Regions from separate parts of the Homo sapiens genome. Here regions 1, 2, 4, 5 and 6 are each linked to region 3. Evidence: promoter capture Hi-C in 16 types of primary human blood cells and fetal thymus (Javierre and others, 2016). All regions are on one chromosome and are shown on one strand. Each heading gives the region's core, a stretch centred on a gene start or on the middle of the fragment in contact. The rest is flanking DNA. Distances are from core to core; before and after follow the strand shown.

Region 1 (2,863 bases), core at 45-2,544, 220 kb after region 3:
TTACCCACAAGGATTTAACAACTTCTCACTGTTTCAACAATTTGTCCACAAAAGTCTCCATTAGTGGTTTCTGGCATGTGCCTTTGCCCTTAGGCATCCTGGCTGACCCACTGGCCAGCACACACCTTGCAAATGCCCAGCTTTCAGCTATTTATTCATTATGCACCTACAGTGTAGAATACTGTAACAAATTATAGGTGCAGATACTATATTAGTGGAAGGGGACACAAATATGAACGAGATTTGGTTTCTGCCTTCAGATGACTGAGCGGGAAATCCATAACCTCACTACATTGGTATAAGGGTTCAGAATAACTAACTCCAATTTGGGGAAAGAGGGTGATTAGAGGAGTTATAGAGTGATATCATCTTAGTCTTGAAGAATGAATTGAGGTTTATTCATATGTGTATGTATGGAAAAAAGGAACTTCTGGTTGAGGGAACAGCCTGGACAAAGACATAGAGGTTAGAAAGGCTTGGCAGAGAGGACTGCCCTGTAGTTCCATATAGTGGGCTGGCAGGAATGCATGTGGGAAGTCCAGCACTGCCTGGAGGACTTGGATTCTGGCCAAAAGAAAACCACTGGGGTCAGGTCACATTGCTGCTTTGTTAAATCCCACAGGGCACAAAAGGGCAAGAACATTCACATTTCTGGTGAGTCACATGTAAACAGCTGTATTTTTGCCAAGGTCTCTTCCAAAAGGTACTGAGGCTGGGGGCATCTTTCACACAAGGTGACAGAGACGTTTCTGCGGCTGACACCATTCCAGTCTTATGACCTTAGATTTCATTTTATCAAGCTTCTACTATCTATAGTTACAAGAAACAAGACCTCCTTTAAGTCATGCTGCCTGGCTGTGGTGAGAACGGACAAGGGTGTGGCTGTGGCAGATGGTATCAAAGAAGACCCTTACTGCCCCATTCCCAGTAGGTCCTTGAATGGGTACTGGGTAAGTTCCTGTGAACAATGGGGAACCCAACTCTCCATCCTATGTTCCCTGACTACCTGCTACTTCTAAGAGATGTGGGTACAGCCCTGGGAATGGCCTTTCTTCAGCCATTTCTTGGCCGTCCCTCCTCTTCATGGTAGGAGAGAGAAAAGAGGGAAGAAAGGACCCATGTGCTCCTGGTGGGCCAGATTCTTCTTTTCTGGTCCAATGTAATTTTCTCATGTGAAAGGGAACATTCCCTTCAAATATCAGCAAGATGGTCAGATGTTTATGCAGAATCTCAAAGCTCAGCATCAAGATTTCTGGTGAACATGGATGCTGTTTACACTAGCTTTACAGTCTAGTCAGGGAAACAGACACTAAATAAGTCATAGTTATCAAGAGGATGGATACCTCAAAGTATAGTACCAGTTGCCCTGGGAACAAACAACAGGGGGATCTAAGGATGGACTGGTCAGAAAAATGCCACCTTGAAGAAGTGACCATTTATACTGAGAACTGGATGAACAGGAGTTAGCTAGGCATAGGAATTAAGGAAGAGCCTTTTTGGCAGAAATGCATGTGCACAGACCAAGGCAGGAAAGGACATACTTTGAAATATTTTCTATCATCTTTGGAGGAAAACTCATTAAAGCTAACGTAGAAAGCAACCACTAGGGTCAGACAAGATGCTAACATTTTACACATATTATCTCGTGGAATCCTCTTAAGATCTTATGAGGTTTGTTTCTATGAGGAGTGGGTCTTATTTGTCCCTGCTGTCCCCCACTGTATTCACAATACCTTAGGCAGCATCTGGGTAAGTAGCAGACACTCAATATTTATAAAATAAAGCTTACATTTTACAGACGAGGAAGCTGAGGCTCAGAGGTACAAGATGACTCAAGAGTTACTGGTGAAAATAGGGCTCTGATCCAGGTTGGAGATGAGTACCTTCTGGGCTGTCAGTCCAGGAAAATGCTCTTGTCTTCTTCCAGATAAAGCAGAGACTAGGCCGGGCCTTGGACAGTCTTAGACTGGGCATGAGGGCACAGAGCAAGTGAACAGCACATAGCTATGTCTGCCCACTGCATTATCAGATGAACCTGGTGAGCGCATAGTCTGCCCTTGGAGCTGGCACCCAGGTGGGGCTGTACCCTAAGACCAGGCAGAAGTTAACATCTCTCAGTGCACTGAAACCTAGAGTCATGTTTCTCCAACGGGGAGCCTGTTAGCTGACCTGACACTCAGGTCTCAGCTGAACAGAAACTGGAGAACTTAAAACTGTCAGGCATCTATTTGCCCTAGGTCAGACTCTGGGAGGAAAGCCAGTGATAAAGGGTCAGCCTCAGCTTTCAAATTTTGGTGTTAAAGCCCAAGACAGCCAAGTACCTCACAGGTCACCTTTATACCTGTGCAACCTCAGGACATTTCTCTTAACTGGGAATTGTAACCTGAGCATTGTGAAGGCCCTGCTGGGAATGTTTCTAACTGTACTGCCCTAAATAGCTTCTCTTCACTGTCTACTTGGCTCTCCTGACGGGGAGGCACTGCAGAACAGCCCTTTAAGATAATTCCATCCTCCTTCACTTGCTATTATGCTTGAGGTTCTTTAGTGAATAAAAGTCTTATTCATGTGTCATAAAAGTGAATCATTTCCAAAGCTGAAAAAAGAAATGTATGACATACTCAAGTTCTTAAGAAAATTACTCAGTATTAAACATGATCAACACTTCCCACTCACTCAGCATTTTATGTAGATCAGAATATTGGAGTTGGAAGGCCAGCTAGCGAGCATCCAAGCCCACCCACTCACAAGGCTCAGTTAGGCTGCTACCCTGTGCATGCAGATCACACTGCAGATCACACTGGAAATGGCAGGATCACGAGGGCTAGTGCTGAAGCCCAGAAGTCAAAAGAACCCTATTTTCTCT
Region 2 (2,838 bases), core at 295-2,794, 150 kb before region 3:
TGACAGAGTGAGACCTTGTCTCAAAAAATAAAAATTAAAAAGGAAAAAAAGAGACACTATTTTTTAAATTATACTGCAGAACAATGTGATGGCCTTACAAAATCTGTTTTCTAAACACCTCTCTGTGACTAAAAGATACAATAGTTGGAAGAAAGGAGTAATTTGAAGGAATTTTCTATCTCAAGCAAAGACTTTATCCAGGAGGCTGTATTTTCCACTCACCTAGATATTATAAAAGGAAGTATAATCTGACTCACCACCTAGAACTAGTTTTCATACCTTTGCCTTTTTTTCCTCTCTTCATTTTTCCCTTTTCCATTTTTCCTTTAGCTATACTTTTTTTCTTTTTGGAGACAGGGTCTCACTCTTTCATCCCGGCTGGAGTGCAGTGGCGTGATCTCAGCTCACTTCAGCCTCAACCTCCTGGACTCAATAGATCCTCCCACCGCAGCCTGCCCCGGGGTAGCTGGGACTACAGGTGTGCACTACCATGCCTAGCTAATCTTTGTATTCTTTGTAGAGATGATGTTTCGCTATGTTGCCCAGGCTGGTCTCAAACTCCTGGTGATCAGCCTGCCTCAGCCTTTCAAAGTGCTGGGATTACAAATGTGAGCCACCATGCTTGGCTATCTATACTTTTTAAAAGATAATCTGCATCATTTTTTATTGTGTTCAAACTTTTGGGAGGGGCCATATTCCCAAATACTTTTACCTGTTTTAACAAGAAGCATTAAATATGAGGGCCCCAGGTATCTAAATCAAAGCACTTCAAAAGGCAGCTGGCTCTGCAATCCTGAATATAATAGTCTAAACAAATATGATTCAGCTTGAATTTGTTGTAATGCCAAGAGCTTTCCAACCAGGAATATCCTGACATGAAACAGAATTAAGAAAGTATCTGGATTCTTTCAAAGCTTAGGTATAGTGGTTCAAGCCTCTGGTTTTTTTTGTTGTTGTTGTTACCAGAGAGGTAGGACAATGAATGAATCAATTGGGGGCATATTTTGCAAATAAAAACAAAAGGGAAAAACAAACAAAAACACCTAAGATTGACAGACTTAGTAGCCTCTCACAACATTTAAGTCAGGAGATAAATATTCTGGCTTTCTGGCTTCTATAGTAGAGGGCAATAAGGAAAAAGGTTTTGGATAAGCCAACCCCCAGCGTCTGCCACAAACAGAATAGTAAGGGAGAGGAAGCAATCTAAAGTCACCCTCTGAGGTGGGAAGCTCTCAGGCTTATGCCCTAAAAGGTAAAGTCCCATTCTAGACAAGACAGTACTGAAATAGCTCTCTGGTTAGTGTTCAGTATTCTAGCTGAGTAACATGTTTATGGGCAGGCAGAGCAAAGATGCCTTCAGAGAAAATGTACAGGGAGGAAAGCACTGTCTAAACAGGAGATGACCTCACTGAAGAAGGCTTCCAACACCTCTGTCAGGCTCACAGCTACCTGATTCTTCAGGTCACAGTATGCACAGTGATTCTTCCAGGAGGCCTACCTGGACTTCTTATGCTAAATTATATGCCTTTGCCAAATGCTCACACATAATCTTGAAGTTAAGCCTTGTAACATCTCTCTTTCATTTGTACGCCTTGTTTGATGTCTTCTTTTCCTTTTAGACATGGAAGTTCTATGAGGGAAGAGTCCATATCTGTCATGTTCCCTGATATTTCTCAAACACTTAGCACAATGTTTGGCATATAATAGGTGCTCACTAAATTTGTTTTGGGTGGAGCTAAGCTGATTTGGCTCTCCTACTAAAATGTTATGCTCCTTCATAAGTCATCACATTCACAGATACTTATTATAATTACATAATTACTTATTTAAAATCTGTTTTTCTTACTAATCCTTTAGCTCTATGAGGGCAGGGCAAAGTCAGTTTGATGTGACTCCAGCATCTCTCATAGTGCCTGCTATATAAATATCGTATAGATGTTCAATAAATACTTGTTGAATAAATGATTGCTTTAGACAAGATATATAACCTCCCTGACACTCGGATTCCCAATCTGCAATCAATCATAACCACCACCATAAGTACCATGATGATTAAATGCCATGCATGTTCCCCATGGTGAACCCACAGACTGAAGTTCTGGGGTTTGCCATGGAATGAAAAAGCAGAACAGAGAATTCAGAGAACTAATCTGGAATCTGGTCCCAGAAGCTTTAATCTACAAAAGGTATGTGACAAAAATAAGGGACCATTTTCATTTTCTAGGGCTGTCATAACCAAGTACCACAGACTGGGTAGCTTAAACAACAGAAATCTATTTTCTCACCATTCTGGAGGCAAGAAGCCCTGGATCAAGGTATTAGCAGCGTTCATTTCTTCTGGGGCCTCTCTTCTTGGCTTATAGATGGCCATCTTCTCTCTGTCTTTACATGGTCTTCCCTCTGTGTGTGTCTGCGTCCTAATCTCTTTTGATAAGGACACAAGACATTTTGGATTAGGGCCTACCCCAATGACCTCCTTTAGCCTTGTCTCTTTAAAGACTCTATCTTCAAATAATTCCTAAGGTACTGGGGTTTGGGGCTTCAACATATAAATTTGGGGGTGTCACAATGTAGCCCATAACAGGGGGCATTGGAAAATATACTCCTATTCTCTCTTCAATTCAAAAAATATCTCATACATAATCTTCTGGTGGAGGGTAATAAGTTTTAAAATACCTACAGCCTGCTAAGAGGGTGGTCTATTAGCAACTCACACCTCAATATGAATTGCTTCATTGAGTGGAATGCTTTCCTATAAGCCATAAGAAACCAGCGGCCCAGGTGAGAGAGGAGGTCAAGGAATGAGAAATGAATCATTTTGATTCACGAGTTACTACT
Region 3 (2,772 bases), core at 111-2,610:
CAAGCGGCTCCAGCTGGGCCCCACATTCCGCTAGGACTCCCCAGTACCTATTCCCCATCTCTCCGCCTACATCCTGAGTGCGCCCTCCCTCTCATCTCGGCTGTTTCCTTCCCACAACCCTACCTCCATACTTTCGGCCACACACACCCCAAGTGCGTGCTCCTGGAACCTCACAGCCCACCTCTCCCTCTCCAGCAAGGACCTACCTCTCTTCCCCTCGACCTGCAGCAGTTCTTCTTCACTGCAGCTGGCTTTTTAAGAAATCAAAAAATCTCATTTATCTGCAAGGGATACCCCCTAGTAAAGGGTGACGGAAAGGAGAAGGCCCCTATCAACCCTCCAGTAACTGGAGGTGCTGGTCCTCCCGGCAACCACCCCCAATTCTCCTCCTTTTCAAGCCCCTGGACAGGATTTGAGCAGAAGTCCCGCTCCCAAGAGCCCACGCCTCCAAACAAGCTAGAAGCGGATTATACCGGTACCCAACCCGGAGACGGCCCGCGGACGGCTGGGTGCACCTGCGGGCCCCCAGCTCCCTCCCACAGGCGCGGGGGGCGGGGCGCGGGCCTTCACCTCCCCGCCCCCGCCCGCCGGGCTCCCAGCGCAGCCCACCCTGCACAGGAAGGAAGCGGAGGGGAGGCGATTCTGGAGAAGTTAAAGGGCTCACCTTTGGACGCCGGGCCAGCAAGGCCAGACACCAAACACCCACCTCCGGGAGGAACCAGCAGAGCCGAAACCGGCTCTCCCCGCCTTTCCGATAGGGCGGAGGGAGGTGAGAGAAGGGAGCGCGCGCGAGGGGTTCAGGAGCCAGGAAGCCGCACTCCCCTCCCGCAGGGCCGGCCGCCCGGGGCCGAAGCGGCCGACGCTCAGACTGCAGAAAGCGGAACAATCTCCCAGGCCCTGGCGGCAGCAAACGGGAGCCCACTCCGCTCGCCGCCACCTCCTCCCGACCCCCGGACGTCCCCGAATGAGTTCCCGGCCGCAACCGCAGCTCGGGCCGCGGCGCCTGCGCCAGGGTTGCGCGCTCCGGCTCGGCGCGGCTCCACCTGCGCGTCGCCTTCCCTCGCAGCCCCCGGCCCCTGCCGGGAGAGGTGCGCACCAACCTTGGGGTGCAGCTCGGCCGCCAAGCCACGGCTTATGCTGAGGCCGGAGGTGGCGGCATCACCCGCGGCGGGCGGCGGCTGCACCGGGACGCGCCGGGGCGGCGAAGGCGCGCTGCACCCTGGACCCTGCTCCCGCGGCCCCGCCCGCGGCTGCCACCTCGAAGCGCGGCGGAGGAGCCGGGGCACCACGGGCGGCGGCAGCGGCAGCGGCAGCAGCGGCGACGGGAGCAGCAGCACATGACTCTGTAACGAGGGGAATTAGACAAAGCGTAACATGGACTCCGGGCCCGTGCAGGCGCTGCAGCTCTGGGACCAACCGCAGCCGGCGAGTGCCGCGACTGGCCCGGCCGCAGCCAATGGGGCGGGCCCGGGCCTCCATGTGATTGCGAGCGCTTTCTCCGGTGGCCCTGCAGCGCCTGACCGGACGGGGTCTGTGTGGCGAGGGAGGGGACCCGGGGTTGGAGACTGGCGGCGAGCGACTGCTAGATGCGGAGCAGGTGCTTGGGAGGGGAAGAACGGCAGCCTACATAACCATCGCCGTAATGCTCTCGCAAGCGTCCACCTGGGCAGGGCTCGGTGCCGGGCAGGCGCAGCTGCCAGTTAGCTGCGAGGCATGGTCAGGAGCCTTCACCCGTCCTGGGCGAAGGAGGCTGTCCCGTCGACTAAAACTCTGATATTAAGACTTGGCGCTGGGGGTGGGGAGTTGAATTACGTTAAAAAGTCACTTAAGTGCCTTCCAACTCTAAGGAGAAGTACTTATCTGAGCTTTGGGGCACACACAACTACTACTTGGCATGGAGAGTTTCTCAGCTTCATGTGTTCCGTCTGTTATTGAAGCTGTATTGGAAAGTCGGTTCTTGTTTTTATCTGAGCCCGCCGTTTTCATCCCATTCTTTTCGTCAAAAATATGTTACATCTGAAAGAGGCAGATGAAAAGATTATTCTATGCTAAGAGGGTTTTGCAGCCCGATAATGTCACCGTTTTTTGTTGTTGTTGTTGTAGGATCGGGGTTCATTTGCAGTCTTTTTTGTGGGTGAGCAGAGGCAGGGGCCAATAAATAAATTAAGGCGGGATATTTGGAGTTATTTGGTTGTAATAAAATATGTGGTTCAACCCAGTGCTTTCATATCTTCTTTTATCTGAATCCATGTGTTTCTGTAAACCATCGGAAGTCTAATCTGTCTTCTACCAATATCTCTCCATGTCAGCAAATGTTCAATCAACGTTTACCCAGCATCTAAATATTCTTAATAAGCATGCTGCACAAATGTTACAGGTACTCAGGAAGGTGTCGGTTCAGAGACAGTGAGACATTAAAGAGAATGATTGTCCAGGGTTTCAGAAAAGGATTCAGAGAGGAGCTGATAGAATTGACCCTTGGATGGTGAGCACTTGGCCCTCAGGCATTGGACGTGAAGAAGAGCAGCCCAAACAGGAACATGAACAGAGAGGTCCAGAATACACTCAAGGGACTGCCCGAGACCCGTTACAAGATGCCACCAGATTCTGAGCCCTCGGCCCTTTTGCTCTCACTTTCCTTCCCCGACCCTCCTTGCCAGCAGCCACTCCTGTTCCACACACTGCCAAGAAGGAGGTGTATGGGCAGGGAGTGTGTGTAAGTGATCTAATCAGTGTCAGATTTGCTGATCTAAGAGATGAGAGGTCTTTTAA
Region 4 (2,930 bases), core at 384-2,883, 130 kb before region 3:
AGACCAATTTTAGGTTCTACATTAGTGATGTTATCTACATGAGCAACTGGGGAAGTCACAAATCTTGTGACCACATGACTCTGACCACATGACTCCTGAGCAGTAAGGATTATATAAAATATGCCTGTAGTTTAGCAGAATTCAGGCCCCTCCCATAATCTTAATCTTGTGGTCTCTCAGTCTTACAAAGGTGGTTTCAGTCTGTTAATAAAGAGATTACTTTTAGAAAAGGACTATTATCATCTTGCTTTAAAGTTAAACTATAGGCTGGGAGTGGTGGCTCATGCCTGTAATCTCAAGCACTTTGGGAGGCCGAGATGGGAGTATGGCTTGAGACCAGCAGTTTGAGACCAGCCTGGTCAACATAGCAAGACCTCATCCCTATTTAGTTAAAAAAAAAAAAAAAAAGGTAAACTATGACTATATGACTAAATTCCTCCCATGGTTAGCTTGGTCTATGCCCAGCAATGAGGAAAGACAGCCAGGCTGTGAGGCTAGAAGCAAGATGGAGTCAGCCATGCTAGACTGGTCTCGCTATCATAATCTCTGCAAAGGTGGTTTCAGATTCAGGGCCTTGCTCTACAAAATGTCCTTAAAAATATGATGCCTTCAATTTCAGAGGAAATAGTGAGATTTCTAAACAACATGTGACTTTTTGCCTAGGAGCTAAAAGCTTTCAACTCCTCTTCTTCCATCACGCTATCTGCAAGATGAAAGGAACCAATCTACGATTTCTAGCAGATTCTTGGAATTTGTAATTCAACTAATGCCTACCAAATATCTGCCATGTGCAGTACTGGGTGGTGAAAATGCAATTTTGTATCATTTAGGCATAATTCTCATGGTATCTACAACCTTGCTTTGAGCAATAACATACTAGGACAAAGGTTAACACAAATAATATTATTTCTTTTGCCATGTCAACCTAACAGCAAAAGAAGAAAACATTTCTCCAAAATGACTTATCCGAAAGACCCTAAGCCTTACTGGAGATTCTCAAGGAATAAGTCACTGTGGTTCAGAAGTTAATGGAAAAGCATTCCAAATTCCTTCTGTTCTTTCCTTCAATAGTGACTTCACTTAACCTTGATAGTGACAAAGAGACTTCGTCAAGGAAAAACAACTGTGAAAGGAAAAAGGAATTTGAAGAGTAATTCAATCTTAACCATCCTTTCAACTGGAAATTTGAGCTTATAAACAGTGCCAGAAAAATGTGTTAGAGACATAGCTGGAAAAAAAATGTAACTTTTTCTTAAACTCCTGCAAATGACAGAATTAGTCATAGGAATCAAAAAGGGAACAATCTCTGAGGGAGAAACACTGCTATTTCACTAGTGGGTCTTCAGAAATACCCTAACTTTCCACTCATCCCTGTTCTAAGAAATCATCTACCTCCACTGGAAAATTCCAGGCATAGGCAAAATAGTCTATTTAACTTGCATTATAATGTAAAACATCATTTGCCAGAGTAGTTACATCGCTTATCCAGATATTCTTTTCTTACCTAACACATTATTACCAAAAATATTCTAAAGTCTTAGATGCATTTGCCCTTCTCTCTTCATTTTAACGTCAGATTCTAAATGAAATTTGCATCAGCATACATACAAATGAATGTTTTAGAAGTTAAGTTATTCTTCATAATTTTCTATTTGTCTGAAATACAAGTTGTTATTTTTGTTGTTGCTGTTTTACCTCTCAGGAAATGGTGTCACCTGGTATGTGTTGATCAAAACATAAATCTAGTTGACATTCTTGATTTCTCTTTCTCACCTTCACTTGAACCTCCCAGGTTCCAGCGATTCTCCTGCCTCAGCCTCCCAAGTAGCTGGGACTACAGGCGCCTGCCATCATGCCCGGCTAATTTTTTTTGTATTTTTAGTAGAGATGGGGGGGTCTCACCATGTTGGCCAGGCTGGTCTCGAACTCCCAACCTTGTGATCCGCCCGCCTCAGCCTCCCAAAGTGCTGGGATTACAGGCGTGAGCCACCCTGCCTGGCCATATTTGCATTTTAAAAGAACATTGTATAATATACAGATAAGTGGTAAAATGTATGCTAATAATTAAAAAAATTTTTTTTTATTTAGAATGCTATTTGGTAACCAATTAAAAACACTGTGACAAGAGAAAGAATGAGGGAGAAAGGATAAAACTTTTTATTTTAGAAAATGGCTTATTTGGCTTGGTGCGGTAACACACACCTATAATCCCAGAGCTTTGGGAGGCAGAGGCAGAAGGATCGCTTGAGGCCAGGAGTTTGAGACCAGTCTGAGCAACATAGCAAGGCCCTGTCTCTACAAAAAAAAAAAAAAAAAAAAAAAAAAAATTAGCCCCTCGACATGCTGTTGCCTGCCTATAGTTCTAGCTATTGGGGAAGCTGAGGTGGGAGGATCCCTTGAGGGTAGGAGTTTGAGGCAGCAATGAGCTATGATTGCACACTGCACTCCAGCCTGGGCAACACAGCAAGACCTTGTCTCTTAAAAAAAAATTTTTTTTTAAAGAAAGAAACTGACTTCTCTAACCTCTAACTTGCTTCTAGCTATAGTCTGCAAGCTGTCCCAAGGGGCTTTCTTTAAAGGGACCAAAGCTTCTAACCACCTCCAAAATTATCAAAGTACATTCGGAATGTACTGTGTTGAGTATTTTCTCCAGTCTGGTATCACTTTTCTTTAATATTAAGATTGACTTGTTAACCAAACCTTCTCAAGGTGGAATAGCAGCACAAAGTTTGAGAGGAGATTGTTCTCTGCTTGCTCCAGGCTGAAACCAAGGATTATCCAGACCAGAACAACTTGGTAACCACAGGTTAGATATGCAAATTTAAAGTTTAACTTTATGCAAACAGTGCAACACAATCCAGGGACAAGGTCCATAAAGAAAGGTCCTGACACCTTTGCCTTTTTGTGTCTTGATGACTCTGGATCATTGA
Region 5 (2,904 bases), core at 357-2,856, 240 kb after region 3:
CTCTGTGTTTGTCTTCATTCTATGAGAAAACATAGATATCTTGAAATAGCTACAGTCATTCAAACAAACAAACTGGAGATACTGTCTCCAGAAGCCCTCTCAGTCATAAGACATGACATGGCAAATAGATTTTCACACTCTGGGCCTCAAGCAATCCTTCCACCTTGGCCTCTCAAATGCTGGGATTACAGGTGTGAGCCACTGTGCCTGGCTTAGATTTTCATAGGTCAGTTTACTTTTCACACTGGGGCACATTCTGGCAAAGGTGTATCTACAGGGCCCCACTCACATTCATTAAACCATACTCACTCCCTGAACTTCCTTTCAATTACAGGTTAGTTCCCACAGCAATTTAAACACAACATATTTTAAAATTCTGTGTCTACAACACTTAGATGAACACAGCTTTTCTAAGTAGTCGACATATGTTAATTTCTCTCACTCATTCCTCAAACACAGTCGTTCTTATTTGCATTTTTCAGACAGCTTGTCACACCAAGTGATTTCTGTACCCATATTTAAAACCAAACATCTATCCAAATAAGTCTCAGTGCTCCTAAAATTTAGCCTACCAATCTCATTAGAAAAAGTGATAAGTTAATATACTTTTTCAGATACAGCTCAGAAATATGGCTGAAATTACTTGAAATTATGTTATTATTAAACATACTTAGGCTTTATATTAGATTTGTTTAATTTAGAGTTTAATAAAAGCCATTTGTAACATTTATAGTTCAATAATTTGTGATAGTTAAATTACATATATATTGATAATTTGAACTGTGAGAAAATTGTAAAATGCTAGAATTTGTTTTTAATTGAAAGTAAAAATTATATCTTTTAGTGCCTATGAAACCTCAAAAAAAAAGTTTCTAGGGAGATTTTGTATTATACAATCCTTTTTAAAAAGTACTTCAAATCTTCCTAAGAGTACTGACCCCAAATTGTATTTAAGATACTTTTAGCAATAATCTTTTAAGCTTGTCATTTCAAATATCAAAAATTTGGGCATGTCCAAAACTTACTTTGGGTTTACCAAGTCATGTGCAAAGCCTATTTTACAATTAGTCACCATCCAGCATCAAATTGTTTTGCAGGTTAGAAAGCACAGTTAGTATGTATAAGAACCTAGCTGTACACTAATTCATAACTACAGGGCACAACTGGAGTAAGATTTCTCATTCACAATTCACAAGCCTTTATAAAAGTCTTACAACATATATCACATGACTGCATTTATGTGCACTGAGCATGATAAAGACATCTGATGTGTGAAACATTTTACATATTCTTCCATAGCGGCTGCATTTGTAACATGCCAGAAAAGAATTTATTGCATAATTCAAAAATGTTACTCAGCCATGATTCTTCTTATACAGTTCTCCTTAAATATTAGAAATATACTTTCTACTTTATTAATAATTTAACATCTGTTTTTCTACCTTCAAAGCATGTCTCATTTACATTAATTTGTTTTATACTTAAAACAAGCCATTGAAATAAATAGTATTACTCTTTATGTTTATATGCATAGAAATTAAGGCAGTCCCAAAGAATTAACCTTGCCCAAGGTGACAAAACCTCTAAGAAATAAAGTTGCAACTGGAACTTAGGTCCTCATACTCAAATCCCAACCTCATGCACACCAGACCACATGGCCTCAGTCAATCCAATTAACTACGCCACAGTCTTAGGTCTCTCAAAAGCTGAAGAAAAAGCTAATTAGCGCTCTTTCCCAACTCATCCAATATCTGCATTATAACTGGGTTATAACTGCATTATAACTGGGTTTGAATAAGGATGCAAATGTAGTTTTCTGTAATGTCTTCCGTTACATATAATCTACTTTCTCAGCTAAACATTTTCCTACTAAATATTTTCTACTGAACTAAAACTTAATATTTAAATATATAGCATCTGGATTTAAGTATATATAAAACATCTCAGCATTCCTATGTATAAAATGATGATAATTTTCCTATTTGAAGTGCTTAACTAGAGAGTTTAAGCATAGCTATCTTTTGTCATTATGCCATTTAATACTGTCTGTCCAGGAAATTGTTTCCAGACCATATTTTAGTAAACAATGATGATTCAATCCAAATAAAATATCTATTTCTAATATACAAACACACTAAATCAATCCAAAGAAATGTTAAGAGTAATGGATTTTACGGTTCTAATCCCATTATTTCAGCTTTTAAACCTCATTAAGAAGTCATAAAAGCTTTTTCAAAACACATGAATTCACTTGACAATCTTACTCCAAAGTCTCTAAGACTGTAACATCAACATTCAAGTTAGGCATCTTTACTTCCCAGTAGTCCTTATTTTACTTTGAAAGCATTTCTAAAATAACAAGTGAAAAAATAAACAAATGATGATCAGATGGTATTTAGTGTCATTATATACTGAGAAGAGGACGCTACTTCAAAGATCTGTCTCTGACCCCAGGCAGGGATTATAGCCGAACAATTCCAAATAGCGGTTCTCTACACTACTCTCATTGAAAATTGATTTAAAAATCACCTTATATCCCTTCAAAATGTTTAGTGCTACTTCCCATTAAGATGTTTCTTGGGACTAACATATATCTAACTGAAATTTAAATTCGCCTTTTGTTGAGTTCTCTCTCTAGGAAACAATGCATCAGTATCTCTGATTAATATGCCCCTTTTCTTTATGCTAAGTAACTCATTTCACCATTCTTGAGAGATTTAATGACAAGCATTAAACATATTTCAAGTGCTTAAATGATCACCGGCAATAACATTTGATATACTAGTTTCCTTATGTCCCTTTGTAGTTCTTTCAAATCTTGTTAGTACAGTGATTTTCAAATAACAAACATGCTTCCCAAACTCAGTCGTAGTTTTGAGACCTAGAAAGAAAGATTTTTCTAAT
Region 6 (2,721 bases), core at 66-2,565, 220 kb before region 3:
AATGAATGGCAGGTACTGCCTTCTTCTATGCACATCTTTTAAACCTGTTGCCTCCTCTCCAGCTACCCATGTTTAGGCCTTCCTTGGGGCGTCACCTTTTCTGTCTGGAATGTTACACTAGCCTTCTAACTGCACTCTCCACCTCATACCAGCTTGTCTTCATTCCAATACATCTTAAAATTGCTGGCAGGTTCATCCTCCTGAAGTACAGCTCTGCTCATTTCACCCCATTGTCTCCCTCATGCCTCAGACAAAAATCCAAACCCTCTAGGCTAGCATCCAAGGCTCTCCATGACCTGCCACCCACTGATTCTTCTACTGCATTCAAGTGACCTGCATATAAGGCACATATTGTTCCCTAGAGACAGTGCATGATTTTCTTCTGTGCCTTGCTCCTGCTGATACTTCTTCCGTGAATGCTGTTCTTCTACCACTCCCATCATCTTCAGTTCTTTAGCTCCAAATCATTTGCATCATTCAAGTCCTAGGTTAAATACCACTTCCATTGCAAAGCCTTGCCTAATTCCTTCCATTGGAATATATCTTTCCTTCTCTGAAGTCTAATCACATTCTATCTGTTCCTTTCTTTTGTTCAAATGAACAAATATGTGCTCAATTTCTGCTGTGTACAGGAATATGCCTGGTAAGGGCAAAATTGGGGCAAACCAAAACAGACATAATCCCTATCCTCGTGGATCTAACAGTCTAATATCTGCCACTTTCCAATTTGTATTCTCTTTCTGTGCAAGTCTTACTTTTCCTTCCAGACTGAAAATTTCATAAATGCAGTATGAAATTTTACATTTATGTGTATTTCATTCATTTTATGCCCCTCTCATACATAATATCTAGCAGAATACACTGCATGTGTTTTAATACATATTTGAATAAATTAATACATGTGTTAAATGTTACTAGATAGATGAGCTTCAGGGTCATTACTCACTTCCCAAGCAAAAGTAACTGATTAACTTTTTTTTTTTCTTTTTCGAGACAGTCTCACTCTGTTGCACAGGCTGGAGTGCAGTGGTGTGATCTCAGCTCACAGCAACCTGCGCCTCCTGGGTTCAAGCAATTCTCGCACCTCAGCCTGTCAAGTAGCTGGGATTACAGGCACGGCCATCACATTCGGCTGATTTTTGTATTTTCAGTAGAGATGAGGTTTCACCATGTTGGCCAGGCTGGTCTCAAACTCCTGACCTCAAGTGATCTGCCTGCTTTGGCCTCTCAAAGTGCTGGGATTACAGGCGTGAGCCACCGCGCTCGGCAACTGATTAACTTCTGGGTCTAATTTTATGGATTCCCTGGTTTTAAAAATTATTAGCCATTTTAAGTGTACTCAGAAAAGAGTTAAGTGCTCAGTCACTGGAATCAGAACCAGGCATGAATTCCGCCACTGCTCCTTACCAGCTGTGTGAGCTGGGGTGGGACTGGAAGTTACTTCACCTCTCTGAGCCTCAGTTTCCTTATCTGAGTTTGGGTGAGCACTAAGTAACATACTAAATGCAAGGCAACTAATGCAATCATGGTACATTCATGTTCAACAATTTGAAGCTATCATTATTTATTTCTGTTGTCTTCCTTTGAATCATAGCATGTTGATACTATTTCCCAGAGCGTGTTGCTATTCCAGTGGTATGCTTGCTTCTTCAGCTTCTCTGACAGATTCCGTTGGAAAACTGACACGACAGTAATTCCCAACCCCTTTCTTTCTTCCCATCTTTTACTATAGACAGATAGGAATGGCCATGTGACCCAGTTCTAATCAAAGAGACAGAGGCAAAGGTCTGTTAGAGAATTCCCAGGAAAATATTTGCTTTCCTGATAAAGGAGACAGATAGGTCTAGGGACAACCTTCCCTACTATCCCTTCTTTCTATCTTTAATGTAGATACATTACCTGGAGTTGCAACTGCATCTTGAGATTTTGTGGGGAAGGCCAAAAAAATTGAGACGCTGACTCAGACAACACTGAGCAGCTGATCCGATACAAATAGTCATCTAACTCCAGACTTCTTGTTACGTGAGAAAAGTAAACCCTGTTTCTTTAAGCCAACATACATAGACTTTTGTTGCTTGCAGCCAAATACAACCAAGATGATTCTCAAGCTCTCAAGGTAGTTTAGGGTATATGTAAGAGAACATTTTTAAAAGATAATGTAGCTCTGTTATTCAAAGACTCTTCAGTGCATAAAAGTCAAATATCTTATCAAAACATCATATAGGAAGAGTCTTACACATCTAGAAGGGATTCAAATTAAGAGTCATTGTGAAACTAATCCTGAGGGAAAAAGCTGTAACGACCCATTGAGAAAACCTTGGTTGTGTTCATTGAGTGCCTGCCATTCTAAGTGCTGAGGTACCAGTGCCGAATTAAACGACAAAATTATTGTTCTCATGGGGCTTACATTCCAGTGAAGGAGACATGTGATAAGCAAATAAATAAAATAATTTTAGATAGTGGTGAGTGGTAACAGAGTGATGGGATAGAGAATGACTATATGAGAAGTCCTCTCTGAGGAAGCTGCAATTTAACATAGCTGAATGATGAAAGGGAACCAGTTATGCAAAGGTTTGGGAAAAGAGCATTCTGGGCAAAGAAAACAATAACCACAATGGCTAAAAGACAGAAACAAGTGTTGTATATCAGAGGAGTAAAAAGGCCAGTGTACCTGTGGCATAATGGGTAAGGGGAAGAGTGGCAAGAGATTAGAAAGACAGG

The links. The method cuts DNA at HindIII sites, captures the fragments that hold promoters and counts their contacts. A CHiCAGO score of 5 or more calls a contact.
Region 1: a fragment that was not itself captured here is called in contact with the fragment with the promoter of LRRC8D in region 3 in 1 of 17 cell types (total B cells); the score reaches 5.1 in total B cells.
Region 2: a contact is called between a fragment that was not itself captured here and the fragment with the promoter of LRRC8D in region 3, in 17 of 17 cell types (erythroblasts, megakaryocytes, activated CD4 T cells and 14 more). The highest score is 17.4, in erythroblasts.
Region 4: a fragment that was not itself captured here is called in contact with the fragment with the promoter of LRRC8D in region 3 in 14 of 17 cell types (megakaryocytes, erythroblasts, endothelial precursors and 11 more); the score reaches 17.1 in megakaryocytes.
Region 5: a contact is called between a fragment that was not itself captured here and the fragment with the promoter of LRRC8D in region 3, in 2 of 17 cell types (total B cells and total CD8 T cells). The highest score is 5.2, in total B cells.
Region 6: a fragment that was not itself captured here is called in contact with the fragment with the promoter of LRRC8D in region 3 in 1 of 17 cell types (fetal thymus); the score reaches 5.2 in fetal thymus.

What each region holds. Positions count from the first base shown.
Region 1 is chr1:89,603,643-89,606,505 of GRCh38, reverse strand. No RefSeq gene overlaps it. Among named protein-coding and RNA genes, the nearest start is that of LRRC8C-DT, 28 kb to the left of the region's middle. The HindIII fragment of the contact is 984 bases long and covers 803-1,786 here.
Region 2 is chr1:89,970,236-89,973,073 of GRCh38, reverse strand. It overlaps LOC105378847 (a long non-coding RNA gene), which reads right to left. Exons shown (of 3, transcript XR_001738142.2): 2 at 2,286-2,424. Among named protein-coding and RNA genes, the nearest start is that of ZNF326, 23 kb to the left of the region's middle. The HindIII fragment of the contact is 1,256 bases long and covers 917-2,172 here.
Region 3 is chr1:89,819,620-89,822,391 of GRCh38, reverse strand. It overlaps LRRC8D (leucine rich repeat containing 8 VRAC subunit D), which reads right to left and starts at 1,360. Exons shown (of 3, transcript NM_001134479.2): 1 at 1,101-1,360. It overlaps LRRC8D-DT (LRRC8D divergent transcript), which reads left to right and starts at 598. Exons shown (of 1, transcript NR_185885.1): 1 at 598-2,218. RefSeq lists silencers at 391-610, 482-691, 782-881, 982-1,331, 1,772-1,831. The HindIII fragment of the contact is 10,555 bases long and covers 1-2,772 here.
Region 4 is chr1:89,950,371-89,953,300 of GRCh38, reverse strand. No RefSeq gene overlaps it. Among named protein-coding and RNA genes, the nearest start is that of ZNF326, 43 kb to the left of the region's middle. The HindIII fragment of the contact is 1,915 bases long and covers 676-2,590 here.
Region 5 is chr1:89,576,706-89,579,609 of GRCh38, reverse strand. LRRC8B (leucine rich repeat containing 8 VRAC subunit B) reads right to left here. Exons shown (of 6, transcript NM_001369817.2): 4 at 1-19. LOC128092251 reads right to left here and starts at 18. Exons shown (of 1, transcript NM_001414942.1): 1 at 1-18. The coding sequence starts at 18. The HindIII fragment of the contact is 1,247 bases long and covers 983-2,229 here.
Region 6 is chr1:90,042,833-90,045,553 of GRCh38, reverse strand. No RefSeq gene overlaps it. Among named protein-coding and RNA genes, the nearest start is that of ZNF326, 49 kb to the right of the region's middle. The HindIII fragment of the contact is 2,926 bases long and covers 1-2,721 here.